4 separate regions of the Homo sapiens genome follow, and regions 2, 3 and 4 are each linked to region 1. Evidence: promoter capture Hi-C in human tissues and cell types (Jung and others, 2019). All regions are on one chromosome and are shown on one strand. Each heading gives the region's core, a stretch centred on a gene start or on the middle of the fragment in contact. The rest is flanking DNA. Distances are from core to core; before and after follow the strand shown.

Region 1 (7,938 bases), core at 3,105-5,604:
CTCCATGCTGAAGATGTGTGGGTGTCTTTGGAGCTCACAGCTGCTTAGGGAAAAGTTCCAAATGGCTATGAATCCTTGGTGGTAGCCTACATACAGTTGGTGGGGAGTGGGTGGGCCTGGAAGGGGACTTCAGTGATGAGGATCAGCAGAGATACCATTTTTGAACCATATTAGAGGATTTTTAAGGCTCATTTTGTAGCTGACCTTCCCTGAGTCAGCCAGAGCCCATCACTGCCTGGGGAGGGTTATGATGGATCCTAGAACAATGTTCGACTTTGACCCCCAAAGTAAGCTCTGGAAGCCCATGGTGAGACAATAACACCCAAAGTCAGGCATTGTGGAGAAGAAACAGGGGCTTTTAAAATTCCCCAAATTCCCTTCTGCATAGCAAGAGCAAAGCCAGCTCAGCTTAGAACATATTTTTATCCTAAGTGATAGGAGCTGGGGGTGTTGGTGGAAGGGAGGGAGAATGCAAGGGAAGGTCCCTGCTGTTAGAAGAAGGAAGAGCTCCCCACTACAGGAGGGTGGAAAAAGAGGTTCAGAGAGGGCAAGGTTGAGAGGTAAGATACTGTCTGAGTTCTTCCAGGGCTCACAGCCCTGTGTGGATGGGCTGGGAATGGTGGGAAGAGCATGGAGATAGACATCCCCTCTCTGGGGGTCCACTGTGGGGTAGAGATGGGGTCATGGTGAGTAAGCAGAAAAAGAGTGAGACTCCAGGGTCTGCTTGTGATATGGAAAGATCCAGAAGCTCCTCAGCTAATGGCAGCTGAGGGGCTTGGCTGTCAAAGTGGGCAATGGGGTGGCAAAGTGACAAACTTTCCCTTCTTCCCTGCTCTCCACTGGGAAGGAGAGGCTGGGAGCAAGTCTTGGACCTCTGGAGCCTTTGTACACCTGTGGTGTCTAGCACTGTGCTTTTCCACAGGTTGCTTTCTGTTGGGTAGGACCCCTACCCACAAGGGCCATGTTGCATGGTATGGGCCTTCTCCTTTTCCACACCACAATACACCCACATCAAGAGCATACTGACTTCAAGACAGCCCCGATGGTAAACAAACAAACAAAACAACAACCCTGAGTTCTTATTATGATCAAGAGTTTGGGCCAGGGCTTTGCGGGAGGGACTAGGAAAGTCTTCACTCATTTGGGGCCCTGGCATGTATGTCTCCTCTGATTCTTCAATGTACTTCCTCTAAACTTCTCTTGAGAACTTGAGTTTGAAAGTTATATCTCTGTGTCCTTAGATCCTGAATAGTCAATATCTTGAGTGCTACTGCTGCTGCTGATGATGTTGGAGAAGACAACCTCCTTGAGTGCTTAATACATGCCTGGCACTTTCTAAGCATTAATCTTTGTGATAACTCTAAGTTCTATTATTACCCCCACTTTGTAGGTGAGGAAACTGAGGCACAGAGCCATGGAGTAACTTGCCAAGAGCACAGAGCCCTAACCGGCAGGGGCTAGGCCAATCCCAGGCAGTGAAACTCCAGGGCCTCCACCCTTACGCTGTGTCTGATCTCACTTTGTGTCTTTATGGGGCCTGGCAGATAACAGGTGCTCAGCAAAGATTATGCTTCTAAGAATCATCACCCTTCCTACAGATAGGTTATGACTGTAAAGCTCTGGTCAATGGATCTCTCTCTTTGGACTTGATTACTTTTTTTTTAGGCTTTCCTGTTAGTTTTGTCTACCCCATCACGCTGTCCAGCCTGCAGCTGGAGCTCTGGGAGAGTAGATGCTCTGAGGTCTCACCCTCAACTTGGCCTCTGACAGGTTCCCTGCCCAGCCAAACTGCCATCACCAGTAGACAAGCTTCCTGGTAATCCTCACATTGAATTCATGTGATGCATGGATGAGGTATCAACATCAGTCCTGTCCTGGAGCCTGAGGAGTGAACCCAATGATCCCTGAGACCCTTCTAGTCTTCAAAGTCCACACTGACCAGAGTGGTTTTAAAATATTCATCATCTTCTTTAACTAGTCTCAGAAAATAATACTCCAAAATATGAACATTCCCACTTTCAGGCCCATGCACACTCTACACACTTTTCCAGGGCCAGTTCAAATGATATCTCCTCCTCCAGGAAGCCTTCCTTGCTTATCTGGCTGAAATTGAACTTCTCTTGTTTGAACACCCAGCCCTTGGTTTCCCCAAGCCATTCACTCCCTGGTGCCTCTGTTTAGCTTTCCCTGGCCTTGGCTTATTCTCAGTTACAGGCAGGACCCAGATTGCACACACGCTAGGGCCCCACCCCCAGCTCCTTGCAAGCAGATGTCATTGTTCCAACATTGATTGATATGTTTAATGAATCCCATATTTCAAGAATGCAACTGACCAGACATAACTCAGGAGTGGTTTTCGCCATATAAGCGGAGCTCTGAGTCACAAATCCTGTGTCTTCAGAGGTCCTTTAATGTCATTCTCTGCCCCCTCCTCCTTGAGTAGCAACAACATTAACAACCATTGATTAAAGCCTACTGTGCACCCAGCCCTGTGTTAAGGGCCTTTCTTACAGTGCCTTAGTGCATCCTGACAACTTTACAGGACACGGAATTTGTGTCTCCATTCTTCACATAAGGAAACCTGTTGGAAAGGTCGCATAACCAGTCCAAGATTGAACAGCTAGCAGGGTGCAGAGCCAGAAGTGGAAGCCAGGTCTGATTCCAAAGCCATTGCTCTTAGCTTCCTGAGGTCCAGGCTGTCCCTAGCCCCTAAGGCAGCCACTCCTTCCCAAGGTTCTGATGCAGCCACCTATCTGGAGTCACACAGGAGTGCGTCTCTTTTCTTGTGGCTGGATCTCCTAGTGATATGAGGACAGTTCCTGGAGAAGATTCTCCCCTCCTGTCTAAACACACCTAAATGGGCTTGGCCTCCTCCCGCAGCTGGCTTCTAGTTGCATATTGGCCTGGTGGCAGTTCTTCCCCTGCTCTCCCTTCCAAGCCCCCACAACTCAATGTATCAATGATTGTTTTAAACTGTGACTCTAGGATTCCACTAGCCAGAGGCCCTTTCAACCATGGGCCCTCTGAGAAGCTCCTCTGTAGGCCGACAGGAGGGTGGACTTGCTTCGCGTGGTACCCGGGGACTGGGGCAAGCGGCTGCGGGATAGGGGTCTCCACCTGAGCTCCCTGAGGGCACCTCTCCCACTACCACCGCATCTGACCCCCACTACTGGCCCCAGCTCGGGCCTGGAGCCCACGCAGAAGGGGAGGCAAGGTTGAGCGCCCACACCCGGCCAGTAACCGAGGCGCTGGCCCTTGCCGGAGCACTTGGCCGTCTTCCGCAGAACAGCATCACTGGCAGCCGCCCCGCGTGGAGGGTGGAGCCGGGGAGCCCGGTGTGGGACGGCCGGGGCCAGGGTACCCTAGGGCGGAGAGCTCAGGGCTGGCTTCCCGCTCCCAGCCGCGCGCCCCTCGGGCCGGAGGTTCCTGCCGCGCCCCGACACCTGGAGTGCATTAGGCGGCGGCGCGCGTCTAGGCGACGGCGGCTTTCCCCAGATTATTGAATAATTGCATAATTCCGAGCGCGGGTTGGGAGGCAATGCCGGGTCCCTACCCCGGGTGTCAGGTAACGTTTCGGGGGTCCTGCGCTGCGCGACTGTGTCCCGCCGCTGCTGGCCGGGCAGACGAGAGCTAGCCCCCGCCTACCGGCCATCGCCCCGGGGCTTTGCTCTGTCTTTGGCCGGAGGCACTCTGCGCAGCCCTCACCCCCACCCTTCAGCCCTCCGGGGCCGCCGCGCCCGGCTCTCCAAACTTTGAGATGCTTCCCCGGAGCCAGGCAGGAGGGCAGCCAGGGCACACTCTCTTGGCGCTGATTCCCTTCCCCAGCCGGGGCCGTGCGCCCTCGGCGCTCCCGGGACACCCGAGTGCCCCTGGCAGCCGTGCGGGAACCCCGGCATGGGCCTTGGAGGCACCTAAGGCGCCCAGGAGGGCCACCAGATCTGGGAGCTTTTCAACTCAAGCCTCTTCAACTCTTCCCAAACACACCAAAGAGTCCCGGCTTTCAATAGCCTTCGCACCTCCCTCTTTAGCGAAACTTGACTGAACCGCTAGACTGGGGCCAGTCCCTGGGGGACCCACGTCCCCAAGAGCAGCTGAGGTCTGACCCTGGGAGGAGGGTCGCGTCCCGATCCTGGCCGCTGGATCCAAGCCCCGAGGGCCCAGGGAGGGACTCCGAGAGGCAAGGGGAGGCAGAGGGTGGGCACCTACCTGGCCACAGGCTGAGCGCCCAGGCCACCACCAGGCCCCTGGGCAGGTCCATGGCCCGCGGCACGGCGGCTGGGTCCGGTGTGCAGCGGCGGCGGGGGGCGGCAAGCCAGAGCGGCAGCCTCCTCGGCGCGGCGCCTGCAGCCTGCACTGCGCGGGGCGCCGGGCTCCCTGACAGCTGCGGCTCATTCAGAGGAAGTGGGAGGGCTCGAGCGGAGGGGAGGGGCGCCGGACACCACTCCGGCTCGGGCTCTGGGCCAGTCTCGGCCGCTCTGCCACCTGGGCAGGCGGCGCGCTGCCTCGACGCGCCTGTGCAGCGCTCCTTCTCCGCCAACCCCACGTCAGCCTCTGGAGAAAACTCCAGAGAACCGCTCCTGGGAACCCCCTCACCAGTGTAGCACCGCACCGCCTCAGTCAGATTCTGTTCAGGAAAAGTGGTTTTTATTCCCATTTCCCAGTGAAAAGAGATTCACAAAACTCAGAGGGTACCCAAGCTGGCTCAGGAACACCTGCTGGAACGCAGGTCTCCCTTGGCCAAGTGAGTGGATGTCCCTCAAAGGTCCATTCTAAGACATCCCCGTGTCTCCCTGCACCCTGCGGCTTGAATTGTAGAGGCTAGTGTTTCTTCTGACCCTGGAATACATGCAGATTCGCCTCCACTGCCACTCCCTGAGCCTCCACACCTGAGGCATTCCAAAGCACCCAGGGACACCGTGCACCCCCTCTTAACCTAACGTGAAGCTCTTCTTTGTAACCCTGCCACCTTCTTTCCCTCTTCTAATCACTGGTAGTTAAATTCAATGCACATTTATCTCAAGAGCTTTAAATCCAGGCCCCGGACCTCCACCGCGCTTGTGGAGGCTTTTCCAGCAATGGAGGAAGCCGAGGCAGAGGGTAGGAAGGCCAAGATGCAGGGAAAGCCACAGCAGAGCGCCCTTCCCCCACTTTCTCAGGAAAGGCTTCCTTCACCCCCTCTTCCCGTCCCCACCAGGTTGAGTCCCAGACACATGCTGATATTCCCCAGCCCGCTCTCCCTCATTTCTCTTCATTGTGCTTAGTAGAGAAGCAAGGCATCAATTGGTGTGATCATTTAACTTTTCTCTCCTGTGCAGACTGAAAACACCATCAGGGTAGAAATCTCTGGTTCACAATGGAGTACTCAGCCCCTAACACCCAGGAACAAAGTAGGTGGGCGGGTGGATGGATGGGTGAGTACAGGTGGTGTGTGGGTGCACAAAGGATAGAGTTTTCTATCTGGGAGGTATTGGAAGGGCTTCCCAGAGGAGGTGATGTTCAGTCAGGGCCCCTGAAGATGAGCTGGAGTTTGAGAAGACCCAGGTTCACATAAGTGAAGTGGGCTTGTGCTCGTCTCCCAACCTCACTATCTTTCGGTTGGCTATCTGGGTTTTACTTCATCTTCACCTCACCCATTCAGCCACAGACTCGGGGAAGGTGATTCCGTCCCTGGTGTGTGTGTGTGTGTGTGTGTGTGTGTAAGGAGGCATGCGGTTCAGGCTGAAATGAATCAGTATGTTGCCCTTCCCAGCCCATCGTTTCAGAAAGGGCAATATGACAAAAGAAAAAGTTTTTTTGGGAAGCAAGCTTTCTTGCCTTTCTAAAAGAGCCCCTAGAACAAACAAACAAATGAACTAACTCTCTCTCCTCACCTCTCCCACTCCTGCCTCCTCTCCCAGCCTGGGACAAGGAACTTTGTAGGCTCAGAAGTTGACAGGGTCAGGGTAGGGAAGGAGGATCTGGCCTTGAGATGAGGTGGACACTGGATGACAGAATGGAGGATCTTGTTGAACTCCTGAATGAAGCCACCCCTTAACCCCACTCCCCTTGGGACTTATCAGTTATACGACAGTGAGTCCTCTTCACTGAGTTGAGTTTAAGCCAGCTGAGTTGAATGTAGAACACCCCTACAGCTAGGGAATGGGCTGCAGCCCACATTCCTGCCTTGCACAAATCTCCAGGTGCATCAGAACGACCTGGAGCACGTGCAAAGAATGCAAATTCCCCAAGGATCAGGGCATGCTGGTGGGTGCCCCAGGCACCTCTGACGTGTGGGTGGTCTGCAGCTTGTGCTCAGAGTCTGCATGCTGCTTGCTGAAGGGGCGCACTGTAGTGGCTGTCCTAGCTGCGCTGCTGCTGGTCTCGCTGGTAACAATTCTACCATTCATTCACCTTCACCGTCCTCACAGGTGCCTGGGGAATGGGGGTCCTGAGGATCACTCTGTGTGCTTTTGTGTAATGTGGGAGGGTGAGGGGAGAGGTGTGCCCTCATTTGTTCTTTCAACAGATCCTACAGAGTGCCTACTGTGCCCCTGTGCTCTGTAGGACACACGGAAGGAGAACCCCACACTAGGGCAGCTGGTGATGGAGCTGAGGAGACAAGACATAACCATGTATTTATTTAATCATAATCTGTTATTTATTAATCTATTTAAAACCATTTATTATTTCATCACTATTAAACATTATTTAAATCACACCCAAGGCAGCAGCATATGAGTGACAAGTGCACAATCCAGACTCTAAGGCTGGAGAACTGCAGAGAATTTGGTGAAGGGCTTTATGAAAGCTGTGATTTCTGTTGAATAATAATAATAACTCTTTACATGTACACAGTGTTTTAACTGATTTATTTATTCACATGCCATAAACTGTGCCATAGAATCCAGTAGTTGTTAGTATATTCACAAGATTGTAAAATCATCCTCACTAATTTCACAATATTTTTATCACCCCAAAAAGAAGCCCTGTAACCATGAGCAGTCACTCCCCATTCCTTCCCACCAGTCCCTGGCAACCACAAATCTATTTCTATGGATTTGCCTATTCTGGACGTTGCATATAAATGAAATCATATAATACGTGACCTTTTGAGTCTGGCTTCTTTCCCTTAGCATGATGTTTCCAAGGTTCATCCATGTTGCAACATGTATCAGTATTTCATTCCTTTTTATTGCCAAGTAACATTCCATTGTATGGATCTACCCCCTTTTGTTTATCCATTCATCAGGTGAGGCTTATTTAGGTGTTTCCACTTTAGGTTATTGTGAATAATGTGGCTATGAACACTTGTGCTGCCGGTCTTGCTGGTAGCAGTTCTACCATCCATTAACATAGCATAATGTTAGCATAATGTTCATACAAGTTTTTGTATGAATGTATGTTTTCAGTTCTCTTGGGTATACACCTAGGAGTGGAATTGCTGATCATATAGTAATTTTATGTTTAATCATTTGAGGAACTGCCAAACTATTTTCCACAGTTGCTACATCATTTTAGATTCCTACCAACAATGTACAAGTGCTATGTATAGTGTTTTACTATTTTTGAAATCCCTTTCATATCCATGATCTAATTTAATACTCATCTTGTACAAAATTGTATTTATTTTTTATAGTAAAGAGATTGTATAGTTGAAGATTCTTTCACTTGCAAGTGACAGAAATTCAACACAATCAAACTGAAGCAGAAAATAGAATGTAAAAGGTCATGTAACTAGGAAGTGCAAAGGTGTTCTGTCTGCAGGTGTGGCTGGATCAAGGGTCTCAAATCAATGTTACTGCTCTCTCTCTGTCTTCTCTTAGTTTTGCTTCACTCCATTTTCCTTTCCTGCAGCAGAAGAGTTTCTCTGACTGTCTAGCAGTCCCAAGCTTATACTTCATAGATTCTGAAGGGAGAGAGACAGCCTTCCTTTAGTAGATCCAGCAGAAAAGTCTAGGG
Region 2 (7,938 bases), core at 2,322-4,821, 250 kb after region 1:
CAAGCAAGTGCCCTCCCCAAACTGGACTTGCACTGGCGGTGGGGTGGAAGAGTAGGGGCCCTGACCGCCAGAGAAAGGCTCGTGGGCAGTGGCTTCTCCGTGGAGCACACGCGAAGAACATCAAACTCAGCAGTGCTCCATGACCTCACCAGGCAGGGTTGGAGTAAGAGTTTGCCCTGATCCCAACTACCTTATTCCCTCTTTCTCCCTCCAGCCTTTCCACCAGTGCCCTCATGCTCTTTTCCCTCAGACCTGCCTTCAGGAATATTCTCAAAGCTTATTCAGAATGAGTCCACAGTGACCAATATTATCTCCCACTACACTCTCTTTAGGGGTATTTTTATTTTATTTTGAGAGCAGCAAGGTGGAGCACGAAAGGAATGAATCCCTAATAGTAGAACTTCAGGTATCAGTCAGCTAGAGAGTCAGAGATTCTTTTATAAGGCAAAAAGACTTAGGCAAGAAGAAAGAGGAACTCTTCCCCCTTCCTTTTGTACTGGTCAGACCACAGGCTGGAACTACAGTATTGTTCTCAGCTCCGTGAGCCACACTGAAATTGGGAAATAGAGCAGAAGGTAATCTGAAGAAGGCAGCCATGATGGCGAAAATACTTCTAGTCCAGCATGAATTGGAATGTTTGTACCCCGCTTCAGCATGCTCTGGAATTCCCCTTGCGGCAGCTGCCTCCCATTTTGCTGTCAGTCATTCATGAGGATTTCACAGTAACTTTGAGGACAGGAAACAAGCTGTGTCAATTCCCTTTCCTCGGTCAGTTCAGCCTCTGCTTGGGCCTTTGGAGCTGTCTCTTCCTCTAGCTCACCTTCCCAGGGAAAGTAAAGCCTCTGAGGGCAGGAATAGCATCTTCTAGGCAGAGGAGGGGTATCCTGTGTCTGGAAAGAAATGGGGACTTGAGGAGGTAGGAGGTGAAGTTGTAAATTCTAGTTTGAGCTTTGCCACTTAGTTGCTGCGTGATCTTGAGCAAGACCATGAACCCTTCTGAGCCTCTGTTGTCTCATCTCTGAAGTTAGGGAAATGATAACTCCTCCACAGAGGTAGTGAGACTCAAATAAGATGTTTATAGATCTATTTTTGTAAAACCAAGGTCATGGAGATCATAACAAGTTAGTACATATTTAAAGTGCTTAGAAAACATTAACACATTGTAGGTTCTCTGTAAATGTTAGCTGCAATTCCACCTCCTGGAAGAGAGAATTTATTCACTTAACAAATTTTTACTGAGCACCTTCTCTGTACCCGGCACTGTGGGAAGCACTGGGGACCCAGCAGTGAACAAAACAGACAAAAACCCCAGCCTTCATGGGGCCTACACGCTAGCGGAGGAGACAGATAATAAAGTGGATTATAGGGTATAATATAGTATAATAATAGAACAGAAATGGAATAGAATATAGAATAGAATAGAATAATGCTAGGAGGAGAAATTGATTAGGGAAGGGGACAGGGGTGTGGGCAGGTGGAGGGGTGGCTGAATTTAAATACAGTGGTCAGGGAATCTGATAGGCTCAGCTTGAGTTAGACGCTCATCCTGGCCCAATCAGCTGTGTGTTTGTGTGTGCAAGGGCACAGTGTGGGCAGATAAGGATATCTGATTGGCTCAGCTTGAATTAGATGCCCATTATGATCCAATCAGTTTAGCGTGTGTGTGCTGGCAGTGGCCCACACTTGTGGTGCTAACATGACTGCTAGCGTCCGCATCTGTGGGTGAGGGACATAGGAGTCATGATGAGCTGCACAAACCCTCCAGAGGATTCTGAATTGAAGCAGGACTTCTGCCTCCTGGCCCACCTTAGCCTTTAATTTCCGGGGGCCAATCTAGCTTCAGGTCACCTTCCTCAGCTGTCAGGACTGAGGTGCCAGAGGGTAAGGGGTCTGCAAGGATAACCACCGCTGCCTAAACCCGTCAAATGCCAGACACCTCCATACACTGTCCCTGTTCCCCTGTGACATGGGGCTGCTATTCTCAGAAAGCTGCAGAGGCAGGACTTGAACTAGAGTCCATGAGACTCTCAAGCTGGAGTGCAGGTCTCAGCCGTGTTTCCCAAGTCCTGCTGTCACCTCTGTGCTAGCATGCGCACACCGCAGCCACCTGAGGAGAGTGTTTAAAATGCTTGTTCCCAGAGGCCTTGACCTGACTCAGGAGGTCTAGAGGTGGCCCAAGATCTGTGTTTTTTGTTTCTTCTGGATTATTTTTTTTTTTAAGACAGAGTCATGCTCTGTCACCCAGGGTGGAGTACAGTGGCACCATCACGACTCACTGCAGTCTCTACTTCCTGGATCAATGGACCCTCCCACATCAGCCTCCCCAAGTAGCTGGGACCAGAGGTGTGCACCACCATGCCTGGCTAATTTTTTTTCTTTTTTTTGTAGAGACAGGTTTCACTGTGCTGCCCAGGCTGGTCTTGAACTCCTGTGTTCAAGTGATCCTCCCATTTCAGCCTCCCAAAATGCTGGGATTACAGGCATGAGCCACGGTGCCCAGTCCAAGACCTGTTTTTGCAGCACTTTCGGGACTGTGCTCCCCGCCAGGCCTGGAGCCCCGGAGGCACACCCTCCCTCTCCTCCAAGCCATCTGTCAGTGCTCCCTCTTCCTCTCCAAAGCTTGCTCCTCTGCCCTTCCTGCAAAGCTCCCAATTGAACCCCAAGCCCCATCACTATATTTGCAGGGTGCACTGCTGGTCATTCCCACTGGGCCTGAGCAGAGACTGCAAGTAAGAAAATTCCAGAACCTCAAAGGTCACCCCGCACAAAGCCCCATTGTACAGATGATACAGATGAGGCCCAGACAGGGATAGGGCTAGCTGAAGGCCACACAGCAGAGGGTGGAGCTGAGACCCTCTCCCTGTCATGCAATGGCTAAGGACAAGGGCCCCTCTCTGCCACAGAGAAAGCATTTCCTTGGGCAGCTGGGAGGCAGCTTTTCTGGGAAAGGCCAGATGGTGGCGGGGGGATGCTGAGGCTGTGCTCCAGGGGTTTTCAGGGATTTGCTTGGAGAGGCAAAGGTTACTTGGGAGCGGACCTTCAAAACCTCCATGGGCAGGAAGAAAATAGCTGTCTTTGTCATAGGCCTTGGTGACTTCGTGTTGGGAAATTGTCCACCCTGTGCCAGCCCCTGTCCATTCTGCAGATAAAACAACCCTACCAGGTTGGAGGGTTCCTCACCCACTGCCCAGCCCCATTCTGTGTGTCTCCTGCCTCCCCTCTCCTGATATGTCTGTTCCTGCCTTCACCCTCTCCTTCACCATAGCTGGGTGGCCAAGTCCCCTCTACTGTGTCAAGAACAGGTCCTGATCCCCTGGTTCAGCCAGCCACAGGCTCTCTGCAGCCATGGAAAAACATGAACGTTGGCTGGATTGAGGGTTTCCTGTTATTTCATGAAAATCTCCTGCCTCTCGGAGGCCTGGTGGGGCCCAGCCCCCTGGCCCAGGAGGCTGCCTTGCCCCTCCATAATTAACAGGAGCTCTCCTTTCCCCTGCAAGGTCTGTTGCTTCCTGACAAAGGCCTAACATGCACTTGACTTTCCCCCCAGATGACTTGTACAGCACCCGTGCCACTGGCTGCTGGCTGTTCCTACAACACTGGCGGGGTTAGGACCTTTCCCACTGAGTCTGGGAGGACAGCAGACCCAGGTCCTGTTGTCAGAGAAGGAGTCAGGCAGAACAGCCTAGCACTCCATAGTAAGAGCAGGGGGAGGAGGAGGAGGAATTCCCCAATTTCTGTGTCAGTGTGAGCCCTTTCTCCCCTCCCTCACACTGAGCCCCCAGAAGGGTGCCCCAGGCCTGTCGGGCAATAACAGAGAAAAGACAGCAGGCGGTGGTTCACACCTGTAATCCCAACACTTTGGGAGGCCGACTTGGGCAGATCACCTGAGGTCAGGAGTTCAAGACCAGCCTGGCCAACATGGTGAAACCCCATCTCTACTAAAAATACAAAAATTAGCCAGGTGAGGTGGTGGGTGCCTGTTATCCCAGCTACTCAGTGGACTGAGGCAGGAGAATCATTTGAACCCAGGAGACAGAGGTTGCAGTGAGCTGAGATTGTGCCACTGTACTCCAGCCTGGGCAAAAGAGCGAGACTCCACTTCAAAAAAGAAAAAAGAAAACAAAAGAAGGCAGCTGAGCGTGTCCAGGGATCAGCAGGTGGCATAGCCAGCACCAGGCTCAGAAGAGCTGCCCACACCATGTCCCCTGGGAGCCCCAAACTCAGGCACCACACACCCAAACTCCAGCCTTCATTGCCGGTCCTCCAGTGCTCAGATAGGGAAGAACTAGAGTAGAAAATGTAGCCCCAGGTTACTGGACAGATAGTGGATCTGGCTAGAGGCCAGGGGACCGCTGTACTCAGGGTGTGTTCCCCTCCCTGCCCCTCCAGCAGCCCAACTTGGCTTGACAGTAGGACCCAGTCCCTGACCTGGCCCTCCGAGCTGGTCAGGCAGAGTGAGGGCCTTCCCAGAAATATCACCTGCTTCTCACTCGTGGATGAGTTCAGTAGATATTTATTGAGACTCTACTATGGGCCTGGCACCGTGCTGGGTGTTGGGATACAGTAGTGACTAAAACAGACAGAATGTGGTGGAAGTGACATCCAAGGGAATCATCCCATCTTATTCATCTCTAGGTGGCCAGCTCCAGGCCCAGGGAGGGTTCTTGTCTGTGTTTGGTGAGCTGGGTGGAGATTCAACATATAACCCCAGACTGGCAGAGCTGGAAGGGCCCTGATGGTTCAGGTCCACTGTGCAGACACTTTCTGAGCACATGCACCGGGGCAGCTGGCCATGCTAGGCCTGTACAAAGATGGGTTAGACACATACCCCACCCATGGAAAGCTCACCCTTGGTGAGGGTGACAGCCATGACAGCCATTAAGCACAGTACAAAGGAGGGTCTGGTCCGAGGGGCTGTGCAGAGCACAGAGGCAGAGGGAGGAAGCTAACCTGCATTTTGCAGATGATAATAATAACTACCATTTATCGAGTGCTTCTGTGGTGCCAGGCCCCGTGCCCAGTGAGTTTGTATTTATTGGCTCATGTGGAAACTGAAGCCCTGGGAGGAAGGAACTTGCTCAGTCAGTCATTAGCGTGAGCTGAGCCAAAGTAGACCCTGACTTCTAGGGGTTCGGAGTGCAATATGTTCCTTCTCCCACTACCCCAGCCCCTGAGGATCAACCAACCTCCACAGATGCAGCAGAGAGAAAGCTTGGGATGGGGAGGGACTGGTCATCTCAGCATGGGGCTGTTCACTTACAATGTAAAGGACATTTTCAAGGCCATAGATTCCCAGGGTCATTACCTCGGAGGTGGTGCATCTCCTTCTCTGGCCCCTTACATATCCCTGATGGAGCAAGGCTGAAGTTCTGAGCCAGAGGTCCCCTGCCCTGCCCACAGATTCCATGACTTCCATGGGGACAGTGATGGCCCAGGGCTGAGTCTCTATGGTGTCTGGGCAGGGAAGATGGTGGGCACTGGGCCCCCGCAGAGTGTGCACGCTCTTGGTGGATGGCGGTTCTCTCGGTGGCTATCCCTAAGAGGCAAGGCAGAGTGGCCCAGCCTGGGAGCATGTGGATGGTGCCATGTGACTCACTCCCACTTCAATGACAACAGTATCTTTGCAGCTGGCAGCATGTGGCTGGGGGAGTCATTTGATCCTGAATATAGACTGGCATTGTGTTTGAGACCAGAGGGTGTAAGAAGCATGTCTGTACCACTGAGGTTTCATTCATGTCTCACACTCTGCTGGAAACCCTCCATGATTATCTCATTTAAGATGAAAGTGTGGATAATCTCTTGGGAGGGCAACAAACACCCGTGAAATAAAGCAAACAACGCAAGACAATGCTAAATGGAGAAGCAGGACAGTGTCATGGTTAGGCCCAGAGCACAACAGAAGGCTCTGCACCATGCAAATGGTACCCCCTTGAGTTGTGCAGTGTACAGTCCATGCAACTGTACAGGGGATCCTGATTAGGTCCACCGTCTATGGCATCATTAATTCAACACAATTTGGTGAGAGCTTACCATTTGTGTCCAGCACGATTCCAGACACTGGGGTTATAGCAGAGGACAAGACAGAGCACCACCCTGCATGGAGCTTACATTCTAATTTGAAGGTCAGAAAGACTAAGGGTTGCATCCTGGCTTTGCCGCTGTGTTAGTTAATCTCACTAAGCTTCAGTTTCCTCATCTGCAAAATGGACACAATGACCTGTACTTCGTAAGGTTATTGTGCTAAAAAATTGAAATAACACTTGGCTTCAGGTCTGACCCATGGGAAGCCCTCAGTAAATGACAGCCAGCATGATCACAAATGCTGTGGGAAGAAGGGCTTAGAAAAGCTTAGGGAAAAGGGGCCGGGCGCGGTGGCTCACGCCTGTAATACCAGCACTTTGGGAGGCTGAGGTAGGCAGATCGCCTGAGGTCAAGAGTTCTAGACCAGCCTGGCCAACATGGTGAAACCCTGTCTCTACAAAAATACAAAAATTAGCCGGGCATGATGGCAGGTGCCTGTAATCCCAGCTACTCGCGAACCTGAGGCAGGAGAATCGCTTGAACCCAGAAGGAGGAGGTTGCAGTGAGCTGAGATCGTGCCATTGCACTCTAGCCTGGGCGAGAGAGCAAGATCTCCCTCCATCTCAAAAAAAAATTTTTTTTTGGAAAGAAAAGCTGAGGGAAAAGGAAGACCACAAGATGTGAAGTGCACTAAATCGTCTCAGTGGGAGCAGGAGTTGGGGCGTCTCTTGAGGGGTGCAGAAGCCCAGAGGAGCAGGCCTTTCTAAAGACCGTGTCACAAGGAATGCAGGGAGGGGGCCAGTGAGGAGCCCCCTGATTTGGGGGCCATATTTTCCCAAACCAAGGGTTAGGACACCCATGATCTGGCAGAGAAGTTCTGTGTTTCTGTCAGAGAAGAAGTCTGGGAAAAGGTGGTCATCCAAATATTGGGATTGGGGGAGATAATCACCATTTTCATAGGACCTGAGACATCACATTTAAAATTGGGTCTGTCACACTTGAGAAGTGTGACCCCTGTAGGGTTGAGCAAACCAAAGAATAAGGTTAGAGGGCAGTTGGGGGTGGGAACAGGGTGTGCGTGCCCCTCGAGGGCCAGGCAGGTAAGTCAGATCTGATAAGACAGAGAAAGGGGAGCTGACTAAGTCAGGATTCCTGCTGCACACTGGCTGAGTGGCCCAAATCTCTGTCTCTAGGTCTCAGTTTCTGTCTCTGAAAAGCGGAGACATTGTTGAGGAGCAGAGATAACACAGATGTAGTTATCTGTTGCTAGCAACAGAAATCACCCCCAACCCCAGTCCTCTTATGCAGAAAGGGTTTAGGGGCTTCATAGATTTAAAGGGCTAGAGCTGGGACAGTGGAGAGCCAGACTTGGAACCAGATCAGCACCAAGACAGCTCCGGAGGGCCCAGTCCCAGCCCACCCTGGGTAGGAGTCTGATTGGCCAAACCCAGTCCCATGCCCCGTCCCTGGATAGCAGAGGACCCTGGGTAGGAGGAACCCCTGCTTCAGCTTTCATGGTAGGGCACTGCATCCCACCAGGACAGCCCACAGAGGGAGAGTCCTCCAAATCAGGAAGGGGGCTTGGATGCCCAACTGCCAAAAAATCCTGCAGATAGTTATGTATGCCATGGAAGATTCTGGAAGAGTTGCACAAGGAAAGTAATAATTATAGAAAGCCAATCTTGCTCTGGAGTTCGAGAAGAGACCAGCACCGTGGAGACCAATTAGAAGACTGGAGTGCCTCAGGAAGGCTATGGGCAGGGTGCACCTGGAGAGGAAGGAGCAGATGTAAAGGCGTTTGTGGGGATTAACCCATCAGAGGCCTCTGGGAATCCTCTCTGACTACAGAGAGGTACAGGGAGTCTCAGAGGCTTAGCAAGGGGCTCAGGATGTTTACAGCTGTCAGGGCTCTAAGAG
Region 3 (7,938 bases), core at 3,837-6,336, 230 kb after region 1:
TGAGAAACTTCAGGCCTGATTTAGTCCTTAGGGCAGTTTGCACTTCCAGATGGCCTTCCTCATGTCCCTGACTGCTGCCCACCCCTCCCCCTCCCCCTCGCACCGTCCCCCCCGCCCCCCGACCCAACCAACCCGCTCCCATCCCAAGGCTCTTGACTTGATGGAGGGATGTGGGAGGAAGAAGGGTTGGTCCCAGCATTCACAGCCTCACGTGTCAAGAGACAGATCTGTGACATCAGCATCACATAGCACTTCTTGTCTCCCCCCTTTCCATTCCACTCAGCCAAGACCTTGATTTCAGTTGCTAAGCAACCTGTGCCTGAGTTTCCAAGTGGGTCGTCAGGTGAGCATGAGAGGTGGAAGGTATGGAGGGGTAGTGCTTAAAACTCTGCAATTTATAGATGGAGACACTGAGGCCCAGAAAGGGCAAGACACTTGGTCAAGGTTGCACAGCTAGTTAGTGCCCCATGTGTCAGATGATTGATCCTGGCAGCAAATGCTTCAGAACCATCCCATTTCCCACTCCTCCTTCCCCCACCAAGAGAAGCACCCAGACAACAGCAACACCTTAGAGACTTCCCGTGAGAGGCTTCCATCTACCTAGACAGGGAGGCAGTGTGCCCAGTGATTAGGGGTGCAGGGTCTGCATCAGCTGGCCTGGCTTTCAACCCTGACTCTACCATTTGCCAGCTATGTTCTTTGGGCAAGTTACCTAACTGATCTGTGCCTCAGTTTCCTTCGCTGTAGAATGAGAGACATGCTAGTCCTAACCCCGAGGCTGTTCTGAGGATTCAGTGAGGTGTTACATAAAGCCTGGAAGGTGCCTGGCTCAGGGCAAACCTTTCAGTGCAAGTCTGCTGGTGTGATCCTGGCTTGCTGGGCTCTGATGCACCCTCCCCACCTAGGGTCCAGTCCCCCCGATCCCCAGTTTGCTCATTTATCTCATGAGAATTCTGCCTTAATGTTATGAGGTCACAGATGGAGTACAAAAGTTTGCAAACTTTAGTTTTTAACACTGAATAATTTTATTCAAATAAAACAGATGAACTTTTGGGGGAGTCAGGGATAGATCCTTTTGGCAGTCTAGAAAAACCCATAGACCCCTTCACAGAATAAAGTTTTTAAGTATACAAAATAGGATTACGCAAGAAGCCAATTATTTTGAAACACAGGCCAGGTACAGTGGCTCACACCTGTAATCCCAGCACTTTGGGAGGCCAAGGTGGAAGGATTGCTTGAGTGCAGGAGCTTGGGACCAACCTGGGCAACATAGCAAGACACCATCTCTACGAAATACAAAAAAATTAGCCAGGTGTGGTGGCATATGCTAGTAGTCCCAGATACTCGGGAGGCTGAGGTTGGAGCATCACTTGAACCCGGGGAGGTTGAGGCTGCAGTGAGCTGTGCTCATGCCACTGCACTCTAGCTTAGGTGACAAAATGAGATCCTGTCTCAAAAAAAAAAAAAAAAAAAGGAAATACAGTTATCAAAATGTATACCAGAATTGTGCTGTAATAAGTGCTTTTCTATCAATGCATTACGCCCCATGATTGAGTGTAGGACACAGTAACGACTCTAATTTCAAAGTCATGATGTGCATACATATTTTGAGTTAATAGTAGCAGAAGTTATCTGAAAATATCTGTGATACCTGTTGATGAACACATTATAGGTTCAAGTAATCCTGTTGGGGTTTGCTGCCTACATTTATACACGAAAGAAATGTGAGGTTTCAGTTAGAGGCTAGTGAAAATATAGATGTAAGTTGTCTCCTACCCAGACTCACAAACCTCCTAACAGGGTCTGTGGCCCCACTCAGATTAAAGACCTTGGAAATAAAATCAGAGGGAAATATTATTGTATAAAATCAGGACAGGCAGAACTGCTGTGGCTGAAAGTTGGTGGGGAGGGAGCAATGCAATAGACCTGAGCACCCTTCACTCCTGTGGGGCTCCCCAAACTCCTAAGCTTCACTGGCAGTTAGGAAACCTAGCTTCTCTGCCTGGTTCTTTGTAACCTTGGGTGAGTTCCTTTGCCTTTCTAGGCCTCAGTTTCCCCATCTGTAAAATGAGATGTTGGGCCCGTTGTCCTCCAAGGTCTCGCCAGCTCTGACATTCTGAAACTCTGTGCTTCTCCTCCCCTGGAGACAAAAACCCCAGAAGCTTGGGTCGGTAGGAGCCCTGGACCAGGGAGAGGGAACAGCTGGGGCCAGGCTGGCCAGCTCCCAATTGTTCAATGGAGGAGGAGGGCGAGATGCATGGTGCTCTCCAAAGCGACAGCTGGGTGAGCCTGGCTGGGGGCCTCGTCCCCGCCTGCCATCTGTGCCTCCTTCCTGCCTTCGGCCAGTGAGGGGCCAGTGGGGGTTGTGGTTGGGGCCTAGGCCAGATAACAACCTGGGTAGAAGCGGGAGGGGCTGGCCAAGAAAATGCAGGGAAGAGTCTGGTTGCTCACTCTTGGGTGCTTAACTCTTTGCACCCACTCCCCACTTTTTCCCACCCTGATCTATAGAATTCTGGAAAGGAAGTGATACACAGCCCTAGGTCCACCCGAGCTGCTTAATGGCTCTGTGACCTTGGGCAAGTTACTTAACCTCCCTGAGCTTCATTCTTCTTTGTCCAGTAGACATCATTCCTAAGACCTACTCTTTGGGATTGGAACAAGGTGTAAATGAAACAGAGTAGATAAAGTACCCCAGCTCAGTGCTGACTCAGTGCCATGGGCCTGTCCAAAGAGAGCTTATACCTGGGACTGTGAACTGCTCCCGCTGATCAGAATGCAACATGGAGGCCTGATGAGCCCCTGTGCAGTGTTTGTGAAGTGCTGTCGCTGTCCCCAGGCACAGGCGGCTTTGCAGCCAGCTTTCTCTCCTACACGCCTTTGCCCCGGCTGTTTCTCCCTCTGGATTGCCCTCGCCCACCAATATCCACATGCATACAACTCTACCCACTTAGAATAACTTATCTATTTATAAATAAGTACTTATATTTAGGCAAAACCTTCATGCAGTTGGACAGTTTAAACTTCAGAAGCAAAGGACCTGCAGTGGACGGTCTGCCTTTCAATCCTAGCTTCCAGTTACTCAGTTCCTCCAGTAGGAGGGAATTGCTGTTAGCAGTTACTGGAGTGTCTTTCCCAAAATTATTTATATGTACATACTTAAACCTGGAAGAGTGTGAGGGATAAGGGCGCTGACCCCTGCACCATTGAAAATCCACATATAACTTTCAACTCCCCCAAAACTTAACTCTGCTGACCAGAAGCCTTACCAATAACATAAACAGTCAATTAACACATATCTTACATGTTATATGTGTATATACTAAATTCTCACAATAAGTCAGCTAGAGAAAATGTTATTAAGGAAACTGACTGGACACAGTGGCTCATGCCTGTAATCCCAGCACATTGGGAGGCCCAGGCAGGAAGATCACTTGAGGCCAAGAGTTCGAGACCAGCCCAGGCAACACAGTAAGAGCCCCTCTCTAAAAAAATTTTTTTGATTAAATTTTTAAAAAGAAAACCATAAGGAAGAGAAAATATATTTACTATTCATTAAGTGGAAGTGAATCATTATAAAAGTCTATCCTCGGCCAGACATGGTGGCTCATTCCTGTAATCCCAGCACTTTGGGAGGCCGAGGCGGACAGATCACCTGAGGTCAAGTGTTCAAGACCAGCCTGGCCAACATGGCGAAACCCCGTCTCTACTAAAAATACAAAAATTAGCCAGGTGTGGTGGTGCACGCCTGTAGTCCCAGCTACTCAGAAGGCTGAGGCAGGAGAATCACTCGAACCCGGGAGGTGGAGGTTGCAGTGAGCCAAGGCCTGGGTGACAGAGCGAGACTGTGTTTCAAAAAACAAAAAAAGTCTATCCTCATCTTCATGCTGAGTAGGCTGAAGGGGAGGAGGAAGAAGAGGGGTTGGCATTGCTGTCAGAGGTGGAAGTGGTGGTGGAGGTGGAAGGGAAGACAAGAGAGGCAGGCAGGCACCCTCAGTGTAACTTTACAGAAATATATCGTAATTTCTGTCTGGCTTTTTCATTTCTCTAAAAATGTTTCTATATGGTACCAATTCTCCTTTGACCATGTGCCTGTATCATGGGAGGGTTCATGTCATGAAAGAAGTCAAGAGCAGTCTTGAATAATTGGACCCTTCTGCCAGATTGTCTAATGTCAATTTGTTTGCTGGTGCTGCTTCTTCTATGTCTTCTTCCTCATTGTCTGGCATTGCTTCAGAAGCACTCATCTCCATCAAGTTGTCTTCTGTTCATTCCTCTAGTGTGATGTCTGTTAGCTCTTAAGCTTCTTCAAGATTCATATCTTTTTTTTGGCAGGCTCTTGCTCTGTTGCCGTGGCTGGAGTGCAGTGGCATGATCATGGCTCACTGTAGCCTCAACGTCCTGGGCTCAAGTGATGCTCTCACCTCAGCCTCCCAAGTAGCTGGGACTTCAGGTGTGCACCACCACACCTGGCTAATTTTTTTATTTTTTGTAGAGATGGGGTTTCACCATGTTGTCCAGGCTGGTCTTGAACTCCTAGGCTCAAGCAATCCACCCATCTTGGCTTCCCAAAGTGTTGGGATTACAGGTATGAGCCACTGCACCCAGCCAAGATTCATATTTTGAACCCTTCACTCCTACACACCTTTTTTACATATCCACAATCTCTTTCATTATTTCCTTGAATGGCTCTGTGGTAAATCCGGTGAGGTCATGCACAACATCTGGACACCGTTTTCTCCAGTGGGAATTTATTGCCTCAGGCTTGATGGCTTTCACAGCTTTTTCTGTAACAATGATGGTATCTTCAACTATGTAATCCTTCCAGATTTTCATGTTGTTCTCTCTATAGAGGTTCTCTTTCTTAGTGTTGACAATCTTTTCCATACAGTACCATGTGTAATGTGTAATGAGTCTTTTTTTTTTTTCTGTTTTTTGAGACAGACTTTTGCTGTCGCCCAGGCTGGAGTGCACTGGAGTGATGTCAGCTCACTGCAACCTCCATCTCCTGGGTTCAAGCGATTCTCCTGCCTCAACCTCCCCAGTGGCTGGGATTACAGGTGCCCGCCACCATGCCCAGCTAATTTTTGTATTTTTAGTAGAGACGGGGTTTCACCATGTTGGCCAGGCTGGTCTCGAACTCCTGTCCTCAAGTGATCCACCCACCTCGGCCTCCCAAAGTGCTGGGATTATAGGCGTGAGCCACCGCATCTGGTCAGTACCATGTGTAATAAGTCTTAGGAGTTCTTATGATTTCCTGATCTAGAGGCTGAATTAGAAACATTGTGTTTAGGAGCAAGTTGAACTCATGGGGTTCTGGGTGGCCAGAGATATTGTCCAATATCAAAAGAACTTTAAAAGGCAGTTTTTCAGGGACAAAACATTCAACCAATCCAGAAAAAGTGTTCTGGTTATCCAGGCCTTCTTGTACAAAGACTACCAGCTGGTGTTAATCTTTTCCCTTCAAGACTTGGGAGTTAGCAGCTTTACAGATAAGGGTAGTCCTGATCATAAACCTGACTACATTTGCACAAAACAGTAGAGTTAGCCTACCCCTTTCTGCCTTAAATCCTGATGCTTGTTTCTTTTCCTCACTAACAAGTGTTCTTAATGGCATATTTTTCCAGAACAGGGCACTTTCGTCTGCATTAAAAACCTGTTCAGGGCCTGGCGTGGTAGCTCACGCCTGTAATCCTAGCACTTTGGGAGGCCGAGGCAAGTGGATCTCTTGAAGTCAGGAGTTCAAGACCAGCCTAGCCAGCATGGCAAAACCCCATCTCTACTAAAAATACAAAAATTAGCCAGGTGTGATGGCGTGCACCTGTAATCCCAGGTACTCAGGAGGCTGAAGCAGGAGAATCACTTGAACCCAAGTGGTGGAGGTTTCAGTGAGCTGAGATCATGCCATTGCACTCCAGCCTGGGTGACAGAGTAAGACCCTGTCTCAATAAATAAATAAATAAATAAATTAATTAATTAATAAAAATCTGTTTAGGCAGATGTCCTTTCTCTTCAGTGATTTTCTTAATGGCTTCTAGGAACTCATCTGCTGCTTCCTGGTTGGCAGAAGCTGCTTTTCCTGTTATCACGACATTTTATGAGCCAATTTTCTTTCAAAATGATCAAACCACCCTTTGCTGATGTTAAATTATCTGACTTTAGATCGTTCAACTTCCTTTTGCTTTGTTTTCATATAATGATTTCACCTTTTCCGGAATCATATTAGAATCTATAGGTTATACCTTTCTTATAGTAATCCTGCACCCACATAAAAGCTGTATTTTCACAATGAGATAAGGTATTTTGAAAAGTGCAGGGTTTTCATGCCTGCTGGCATAACTCAGGAATAACTTCATGAATTTCCTTTTATTTTTTTACAATAGTCCTTAAGCTGGATTCATTTATCTTGAAATGAGGTCTGCAGTTGTCATTCAAGGTTTACACTATTGCACTAAACACGATGAAAAATACATCAAGAACCTCAAGAGATCACTTTGTATTGCCATATGCAATTTATTGGAGAGATGAATTGAATCATATACATGGAGATGATTAGCCTCACATGCATTTTAAGCAGATACTTGCAACACTTGAGCTTCCTGCAATAGCAACAAGAGCAGGCTACAAAATTATTACAGTAGTACAGTAGATGCCACAATTTGGTGCAGTTATGACTTAATACTGTGTCATTAACATTTGTTTACATTTTTCTCAACTGCAAATGACACCATGTATGATCTGAAAGTGTGTGTATGTTTTGATAAATTTCAGCTTCTTATAATAGATTTGTATATATTTTATGCCAGTAAATGATAAGACAGACTAGTATCTACAGATATTCTATGCATTTATGACATACCTTTTTCTTAATTTTTTTTTTCCTAAACAGGCTAACACAGGACTTTTTCTTAAATTTTTTAAAATATTTCTAGGCTACCTGGTTTATCGTGAGCTTTTTCAAATTGTCGCTAAACTCAAAGAAATTTCCAATTTATTGAAAAAAAATCTGTGGATAAATGGACCCAAACAATTCAAACCCGTGTTGTTCAGAGGTCAATCTTTTTTACACGAAGATCACCAACTACCTACATTGTTCTCTCTACATCTTGCTTTTTTACATGTAATTATATATCTTGGAGATCTTTTCACATCAAATATAGAAAGAGTTTCCTTGCTCATTTTTATAGCTACACAGTATTCCATTGTTTGGATGGTCATCATTTGTCCAGCCACATTTTGCCTATTGATAAGTATTTCCATTGTTTCTTAAGTTTCACTATCATAGACAGTGCTGCAGAGCATAACTGTGGACACGCTTTATTTCATGTGCATGCAGGTACGTCTGTAGAATAAATCCCTAGAATTTAAATGGATAGTTGAAGAGGTACGTGCTTTCTTCCAGGAAACACACACACATACACGCGCACACACACGCAGAAGAATTTCCTCCTGACATTGTAGTAGGAAGTTTTCTTAACAGGACACAGAAAGCAATAGCTATAAAACAATCAATAAATTGAACTTAATCAAAATTAAAAACTTTTGCTCATCGAAAGATTCATTAACAAAGTGAAAAGGCAAGCCACAGACAGAGGAGCAATATTTGCATTGCATATATCTGACAAGGGATTAGTATTCATAATATGTGACTGGATTTAAAAATGAGAAAAAAAAGTGGACAAGACTTGAATAAGCATTGCATGAAAATGGATATCCAAATAGCCAATAGGCCTGTGAAAAGGTACTACTTTCCCAGAGTAGTTTCAATTAGCATTCTTATTAAGACAGAAGTTGAAATCTCTTTATGTGTTAAGACCTACTTGCATTTATTTTTGTGTGAATTGTTTATATGCTTTGTTCATCATTACTCACCAGGAAGATGAAAATTAAAACCATGAGTTACTACTGTACATCCACCAGAAAGGCCAAAATTTAGAAAGC
Region 4 (7,938 bases), core at 4,732-7,231, 160 kb before region 1:
CTGTATTTGTAGTAGAGATGGGGTTTCAGCATGTTGGCCAGACTGGTCTCGAACTCCCAACCTCTGGTAATCCATCTGCCTTGGCTTCTCAAAGTGCTGGGATTACAGGCATGAGCCACCGCACCTGGCCCATACATACCCATTCTAAAGCATTTGTTATACATCCTTAAATATGCATGTATCCTCAGAAAACATGTATTATTATATTGTGTGCATATGCTATTTAATAAATAGAATCTAGTTATAAATTTCATTCTGTTTCTGTACTTCTGCACTTAACCCTATGTTTGTGAGGCCTATCAATGGTGTTTTATGCATATCTATTCCATCACTTCTTTCTCCAGCATTGTATTTTCATAGTGTACTATGTATTAGTTGCAGTAACACTAGTTGCTGTAATAAACAAACCCCAAAGCACATAATGCTGAACACAATTGAAGTTTATTTCTTGCTCTTAAAATCCAAAAAATGGGTATTCCTCATTGGTGTGTGGGTTTCTCCCCAGTGGTGATTTAGAGAACCCGGCTGCATCTATCTTGTGGCTCTGCCTTCTTTAACATGGCTTCCAAGATGGTCGCATCCACCTGCATTGCATTGGCAGAAGGTGAAAGGCATAAATATCTTGTGTGAGAGGTTTTCATGGGCCTGGAATAGCAACATCATTTCCATTCATATTCTTTGACTAGACCTCAGTCAAATGGTTGTGCCTAACTGCAATGAAGACTGGAAAATGTAGTCTATTTGTGTGTCTTGGAAGAAAAGGAGATAGACTTGGTGAGCCACTAACCAATCTTCCCAGAGTGAGCATCCATCGTATGGTTCTTCTCCATCTGTGATAATGAATACCTAAGTTGCCCTCACTTCCCCACCACTCAGATAAAGCCATGAGGAAGGTCTTTGTACCTAAAAACCTTTGTGAGTTCTCTGTGATAAACACTAACATTTGATTTTGCCTATCTAATTTTTACCATTCTGACGTCCAAGTATAAAAAGTGGTATCTTGTGATTGCGTTCCTCTGATTACTAATAAATTTGAGTATCTCTTCTATTTTGGGCTTTTGCTTCTGTGAATAGCTTGTTCTTTTCCTATGCCATTTTTTTCTATAGGGTTTCCTGTGGCATTTTTTTTTCCTACCGATTTGCCTGAGTTTTTATATAACCTAGAAGATAATCACTCTTTTGTTTTAGATATTATAAACAAGTACAGAAAGCACATTCTTCTCAAGTACACATTGAACATTTCCCACAGATACACCACATGCTGAGACATGATCAAACCTCAACAAATATCAAAGGAATGAAATCCTACAGATTGTGTTCTTCGACTGTGGAATTAAGCCAAACATCTGTCATATGTAGCTAATAATACAATCCCCCACCGCTTTGAGATTTGATAGGACTTCTAAATAACTTATGAATAAAATGAAAAAAATCACATGAGATTTAGAAAATATTTTGAACTGAATAATAATGAAAACACAACAAACCAAAACTTGCAGGATCATTACAACTAAAAGTTCTCAAATGTAAATCTATTGCTTCAAAATTGTTCGGACCATAACTTCATTTGTTCTTGTCTAAATCCTTTTTTGATTTCCTACATCACCAAACCTAGCAAAATTATAAGGCAGGATAAGAGAAAAACCACTTATGAAAACAAAGATAAGGTGGAAGAACAACAATATATTTTAAACTAAGAAAAAAAAGCAAAGAAAACTGTGGCTTGACATATTTGAAAGGTTTGCATCATCTTGGTATATTATATTTGCTGTGTAAATAAGTATGTTAGAGAAGCTGATACAATTTCTTAATTTGATTCTTGTAATAAACACATATAATTTTATTTTATAAACTGTAGGATGTCAGCCAGACAGTGATTAGAGGAAAATGTATGGCCTTAAATGTATATATCAGAAATGAAAAAAAAAAAAAAAAAGACTAAGAATTGGCTGGGCGAGGTGGCTCATGCCTGTAATCCCAGCACTTTGGGAGGCTGAGGCAGGTGGATCACTTGAGGTTAGAAATTCAAGACCAGCCTGGCCAACATGGTAAAACCCTGTCTCTACCAAAAATACAAAAATTAGCTGGGCATGGTGGTGCACACCTGTAATCCCAGCTACTTGGGAGGCTGAGGCAGGAGAATCGCTTGAACCCGGGAGGAGGAGGTTGCAGTGAGCCAAGGTTGTGCCACTGTACTCCAGCCTGGGTGACAGAGCAAGACTCCATCTCAAAAAAAAAAAAAAAAAAAAAAAAAGACTAAGAATTGGCTGGGCGAGGTGGCTCAAGCCTGTAATCCCAGCACTGTGGGAGGCTGAGGCAGGTGGATCACTTGAGGTGAGAAATTCAAGACCAGCCTGGCCAACATGGTAAAACCCTGTCTCTACCAAAAATACAAAAATTAGCTGGGCATGGTGGTGCACACCTGTAATCCCAGCTACTCGGGAGGCTGAGGCAGGAGAATCGCTTGAACCCGGGAGGAGGAGGTTGCAGTGAGCCAAGGTTGTGCCACTGCACTCCAGCCTGGGTGACAGAGCAAGACTCCATCTCAAAAAAAAAAAAAAACAAACAAACAAAAACACTAAGAATTGAAAATCAGGAATCTAAAAGAAGAGCAACCAAATTAGGACCAAATAAAGAAAAAGCAAAGAAATAATAAAGAGCAAAAATCTGTGAAATAGAAAAAAATTTGCAATATGGAAAATAAATCCAAACATTCATTCTTTGAAAAGGTTAAAAAAACTGATAGGCCAGTCACAGTGGCTCATGCCTGTACTCCTAGCACTTTGGGAGGCTGAGGTGGGAGGATCGCTTGAGCCAAAGCTAAGGCTGCAGTGAACTGTGATCATTTCACTGTATTCAAGCTTGGGTGACAGAGTGAGACCTTGTATCCAAAAAAAAAAAAAAAAATTGATAAATAGTAGTAAGACTAAGAAAAACAAAGAGAAAATATGAATTATCAGTATCAGGAATGAAAAAAGCAGGCTATAAAAACAGATGCTACAGATATTAAAATGATAAAAAGATATTATAAAAAATGTGCGCTAATAAATTTGAAAATTTGAAGGAAGTGAATCAATTCTTTGAGAAGCCCAATTTACCAAAATGAACATAAGTACAAAATGTACATATACCTACATCTACTTTAAAAACTTTAATCCATAATTAGAAACCTTCCCTCAAAGAAAATACTAGAGAAAAAAGGGAAAATATCTCAACTTTCAGGCCAGCATAACTTTAATATAAAAATATATCAAAGTTATTAAAAAAGGAGAAGTTACAGACTAATGTCTCTAATAAATAATAGAAGGCGGCCAGGCATGATGGCTCACACCTATTATCCCAGCACTTTGGGAGGCTGAGGCAGGTGGATCACCTGAGGTCAGGAGTTCTAGACCAGTCTGGCCAACATACTGAAAACCTGTCTCTACTTATTAAAAATATAAAAATTAGCTGGGCATAGGGGCACATGTCTGTAATCCCAGCTACTCGGGAGGCTGAGGCAGGAGAATCACTTGAACCTGGGAGGCAGAGGTTGCAGTGAGCCAAGATGTCGCCACTGCACTCCAGCCTGGGTGACAGAGTGAGACTCCGTCTCAAAAAAAAAAAAAAAGAAAGTTCTATCCAACTCCATTAGTCAGGAAACCTCTTCAGAGCTCTCCTTGTCTGGAAGGCCCCTGACACTAACTCCAGGAGGCCAGGGCTTGGATCTCAGTTGTACGAACTGGAGCTGGCTACTTAATCTTTTTGTGCCCAGTTTTCTTCGTCTGTAACATGAGACCTTGTTACCTAACTCACTGGCTCACAAGCTCAAAACAGAGTGAGAACATTCGAACACATTGCCGGGGGAGTGTAAACTGGATGTATTTTCTGGAAAGTAATTTGGCTAGATATATTCAGAAATATTCAAATCCTGTGAGCTAGTAATTCCATTACTAGAAATTTATTATTGGCACATAATCAGATATACAGACAAAAATACAAGTAAAGAGGTGTTCGTGGCACTGTTATTTTAATAGTAATATTTTCGTAAACATCTTGAAAGTCCAACAATCAGGGCATGGCCACCGAAATTATAACACATCTATTCTGATAAATGCAGCCATTATGAATTGCTGTAGCAGAATATTTGGTAACATTGAAAAATGCCAATGACTTTATGTTAAATGAAAAGAAAAAAAGATATGGAACTCTTTGTGTGGTATGGCTCCAATTTTGTTTCATGAACTATATATGTCTGTGGACTCAGAAAACAGACTAGTGGGAAATTTACTGAAAATCTTATTGCTGGTGGTATAATTCTGTATATATTTAAAATTGACATTTGAAAAGTTGTCCCAGCATTCCTCATAAGCATGTGTTGCTTTGTTAATAAGAGAATCAAATATTTAAAAAGTAACCCAAATTAAAATTATTTGTGGGAAACCTCTTTGAAAATCATTGTGCTACACGTGAGATGTAAGTGCGTTTCTGGGGCTTTAGAAGCACAGACGGATTCCTGTTTAAATCAATACATTTGACTGCAAGGAAGATAAATGGGTGAGTGGGTGGCCATGCTGGGCACGGCTCCTAAGTCAGGCGCTCTGCCTGCCTGCTCCGCCCCTGCAGCCCAGCAGCGAGAGTCCTGCCAGCCCTAACCCCGTTTGTTTTTCTTCTCCCCCTGGATCCACCACCCACCTCTCCTTCCTCCGGTAGGTATGAACATGAACGAGTCTGTCTGGTCTTGTCTGCTAAGTGAATCATGCCTCAGAAATGGGAAATGGCCTCAAGGCCAGGGCCTGTCTCCATGGAAGAGCTGGGACTAGCCTCAAATGTGACATCAGCGTGAGTGCTGAGGGTTTCGCTGCAGCTTCCAGGCTAGATGGCAGGTGTGGGTGTTGCCATGTTTCTGGGCTTCTGGGCCAGGTCCTGATGGAATGCTAAAGTGATACGACCAGACACAGGTGAGAAGAAGGCTGCTTCTCCTGTGGTATGATTTGAGGGCATCCTTAGGTCTCTCTGGTGCTGACTCACCCTCCTCCCATCCTGAAATCACCATTATAAAAACTCCTTTGCCAGGGAAGACAACTGAAAGGAGTGGACAAGGAGGCTCCTGCTGAAATGCATGGGATCACACAGGGCAGCAATATCTCCTAATATTAGCACTGAGGCTCTGGAATCAGTCAAGCTTAGGTTTGGATCCCAACTCCACTACTGCTTGGGGATGTCCCTTGGTGCCGCTGACATCTGTAAATGATGACAAAAAGCACTTACATATACCAAGCAGATGCCAGGCACAATTCTAAGTGCCCTTCTATTAACTCACAACAACCTTATTAGGAAGTTACTCATAATCACATCCATATTACAGAGGAGGAAATTGAGGCATGGGGTGGTGAATTAACTTGCTCAAGGTCTCACAGGATCAGCACTAGGATGAGTCCACACCCAGTGTGGCTCCTATGCTTTTAATGACCATGTTTGGGAATCTTATTAGTATCAGATGGGATAATAATAGAAACCATGACTTATTAGGGGCTTACTCAGTGCCAGGCACTGGACTAAATGCTATATAGGAATTTCCTCATTTGTTCATCCCAGTGCGTGGATGAGGCAAGGACTATTGTTAGGTGCTAACATCACCCTGGCAGGACAGCCAACTGTATACAAGGCCCTATGTTAAGGGCTGGGCCTTCAGGAGATTGCTATGGCATAAAGAGTTAAAATGTGTCCATAATAACTGTGATTCATGGTAGAATCATAGGTTGATGGAGCTGGAAGAAAGCTTAAAGGTCATCTGGTTCAGATGCATTTTTACTGATGACAAGAACCAGAGTGTGTGTGGGAGGGTGGTGGGAAGGTTTAATCCCACAGGAGTTTTGGGAGAAGATTTAGTGAGATGATAACAGCAGCCAGCACTTACTGAGTTTGGGTGCTGTGTATGCTTGTATGCTTATCTCATTCAACCCTCCAACCAGATAAGGGTGACATTATTATTATCCCAGTTTCACAGATAGGGAAACCGAGATGTTGAGAAGTTGAGCAAGTACCTTGCCCAGCGGCACACAGCTAGCAAGTGGTGAAGTTAGGATGCTGCAGGCTGGATTCCAGAGCTCAGGTGCTGAATTACCATGCTGAATGCCATCCCAGTGATAGAAGGAGGTTAAAAGGCCTGGGAAGAAGCTGGACTAGGTGGATGGGAAAGGCCTTTGGAGACTATGAAATCTTGTACAGACACGAGTAATTTTTGGAAAGAGGCAAAGGTCCCAAGAGAGGTATAAAGTGGTATAGACCTCAGGGGCAAAATCAAGGAAGATGTCCAGGATGAGATGGCATTTGCTCTGGATGTGGATCTGTGCTCCTGGGGTAGGAGTGAGGGCTGTCCAGACTATGTGTGGGATGGTGGTGGGGTTTCCTCCAGCCCTTCCCCATTGGCATGGGATGGCTCAGTAAGTTAATTGGCCCCTTAGCCCAAGTGAAGTGACCAGGACCACAGAAAGCTTTGGGCACCTAAAGCTGGGGTCCTGACTGCAAAGAACATGATGGGTGGGGAGAACTGAGAGGGCACAGAAGGTTGGTAGCAGGTGGGGTGGAGGTGGCCAGACAGCCTGAGTTCAAATCCTGATGTTCTCCCACACTCCAGTTATGAGGCCACAGACAAGCTACTCCACAGCTCTCTGCCTTAGTTTCTTCATCTGAAGAATGGGAATGATAATAATGGCATGTACTTCAGAAGCTTGTGTAAATATAACATGCTCATCTGTGTGAAATGTTCACTGTGATGCCTGGCACACATATTTCTGTCATTATAAGCCCAGGATACCGATTGGTACCACTATCCAGAGAAGAATGGGGTTAGAACAAAGCAGACACACGTCTATTTCAACCTACTTTCCTGGTAAACCTAAATCTGGCAGAGATGAATGGCTTCGCAAAATAACACAGACTAGCCACCCCCTCTCCTCCAGCCTTGGTTTTGTTTTTGCCAATCATTAGATTTGCTTTTCAGGGAAAGGCAAGGAGAGTGGGAGGCAGAGGAGGCAGAGGCCAGTGGGCTGCCAGTTTTGTGAAACCGGGCTGATAGACTGTCACTGGTTTCTGAGTTATCACTCTTATTTCTGACATCATCCTTGTGCAGCTCTGTTGGAATTTCTGAACTCTTGTGAATTAGCCTCCCCAGCCCCTTGTATACCATGGGTTTACTCTCCATTCTTAGAGGCGGGCACATTCTTGCAGAGAAAATGCAGATGGGGACAAAGTCCTTTCTTGAGCAGGTTAATGGCAAAATAGAAGGATTTTGCCAGGTGGGCAAAATAGAAGAGTTTTGTAACGTGGGCAAAATAGAAGGATTTTGTCAGGTGGGCAGGAGGGGAATAAGAGGAAAGAGAAACTAGTATGTACTGAGGCACCCCTTCATAGGACCAGGCTTGGTGAAGAAGCTGGCATGTTCCCATCACACCAGCCCTGCAAGGAAAAGATTTGACTCCATTGTACAGATGTAGAAACTGGCCCAGAGCCACAGCTTGTCCATAGATATGGAAATCCCACCCAGATCTATTCAACACTAAGGGTCACCCTCTTCCTCTATAGTACGTGCAAGGGGTATAAGATTAAAACAAGTGTCTTTACTGGTGCTTGAAAAATAACATTTTTGCATGCACTTTATCTGAGGAACTTCATTGACTTACAGCTGCAGGCTGGATTGACCTGACTTGGAAAAAGAATGCTCCATGGAAGGCATGGCAAATTCTGCTCATAGGCCACTATAATGCCTAGGAAGCAAAGTGCGGGGAAAGGTCAGTCCTGCCTTATTTCCAGGTGGAAGGCTGCAGTTTGTTGTCATCAGCAAATCAATCTCCATCAGGATATAGCTACTTGTAGTTATGTTTTACTATTGCACATTTGCTCAGTGGCTTTCTGTCCAGGGAGGAGGAAATAGGTCAGAAGCACAAGGAACTATTT

What was found. The method cuts DNA at HindIII sites, captures the fragments that hold promoters and counts their contacts. A contact is called where the count stands out against the background at its distance.
Region 2: a contact is called between a fragment that was not itself captured here and the fragment with the promoter of ITGA11 in region 1, in 1 of the 25 tissues and cell types used here (mesenchymal stem cells).
Region 3: a fragment that was not itself captured here is called in contact with the fragment with the promoter of ITGA11 in region 1 in 1 of the 25 tissues and cell types used here (mesenchymal stem cells).
Region 4: a fragment that was not itself captured here is called in contact with the fragment with the promoter of ITGA11 in region 1 in 1 of the 25 tissues and cell types used here (H1 embryonic stem cells).

Annotation. Positions count from the first base shown.
Region 1 is chr15:68,427,809-68,435,746 of GRCh38, forward strand. ITGA11 (integrin subunit alpha 11) reads right to left here and starts at 4,355. Exons shown (of 30, transcript NM_001004439.2): 1 at 4,207-4,355. The coding sequence starts at 4,258. RefSeq lists an enhancer at 2,756-3,515 and a silencer at 6,062-6,356. The HindIII fragment of the contact is 3,029 bases long and covers 3,808-6,836 here.
Region 2 is chr15:68,674,572-68,682,509 of GRCh38, forward strand. The region is part of intron 2 of CORO2B (coronin 2B); the gene reads left to right. Among named protein-coding and RNA genes, the nearest start is that of CORO2B, 100 kb to the left of the region's middle. The HindIII fragment of the contact is 4,249 bases long and covers 1,448-5,696 here.
Region 3 is chr15:68,656,064-68,664,001 of GRCh38, forward strand. All of the region lies in intron 2 of CORO2B (coronin 2B), which reads left to right. LOC124903514 (a long non-coding RNA gene) reads left to right here. Exons shown (of 2, transcript XR_007064691.1): 2 at 7,873-7,938. Among named protein-coding and RNA genes, the nearest start is that of CORO2B, 81 kb to the left of the region's middle. The HindIII fragment of the contact is 3,710 bases long and covers 3,232-6,941 here.
Region 4 is chr15:68,267,370-68,275,307 of GRCh38, forward strand. No RefSeq gene overlaps it. Among named protein-coding and RNA genes, the nearest start is that of FEM1B, 6.4 kb to the right of the region's middle. RefSeq lists an enhancer at 4,765-5,964. The HindIII fragment of the contact is 3,939 bases long and covers 4,013-7,938 here.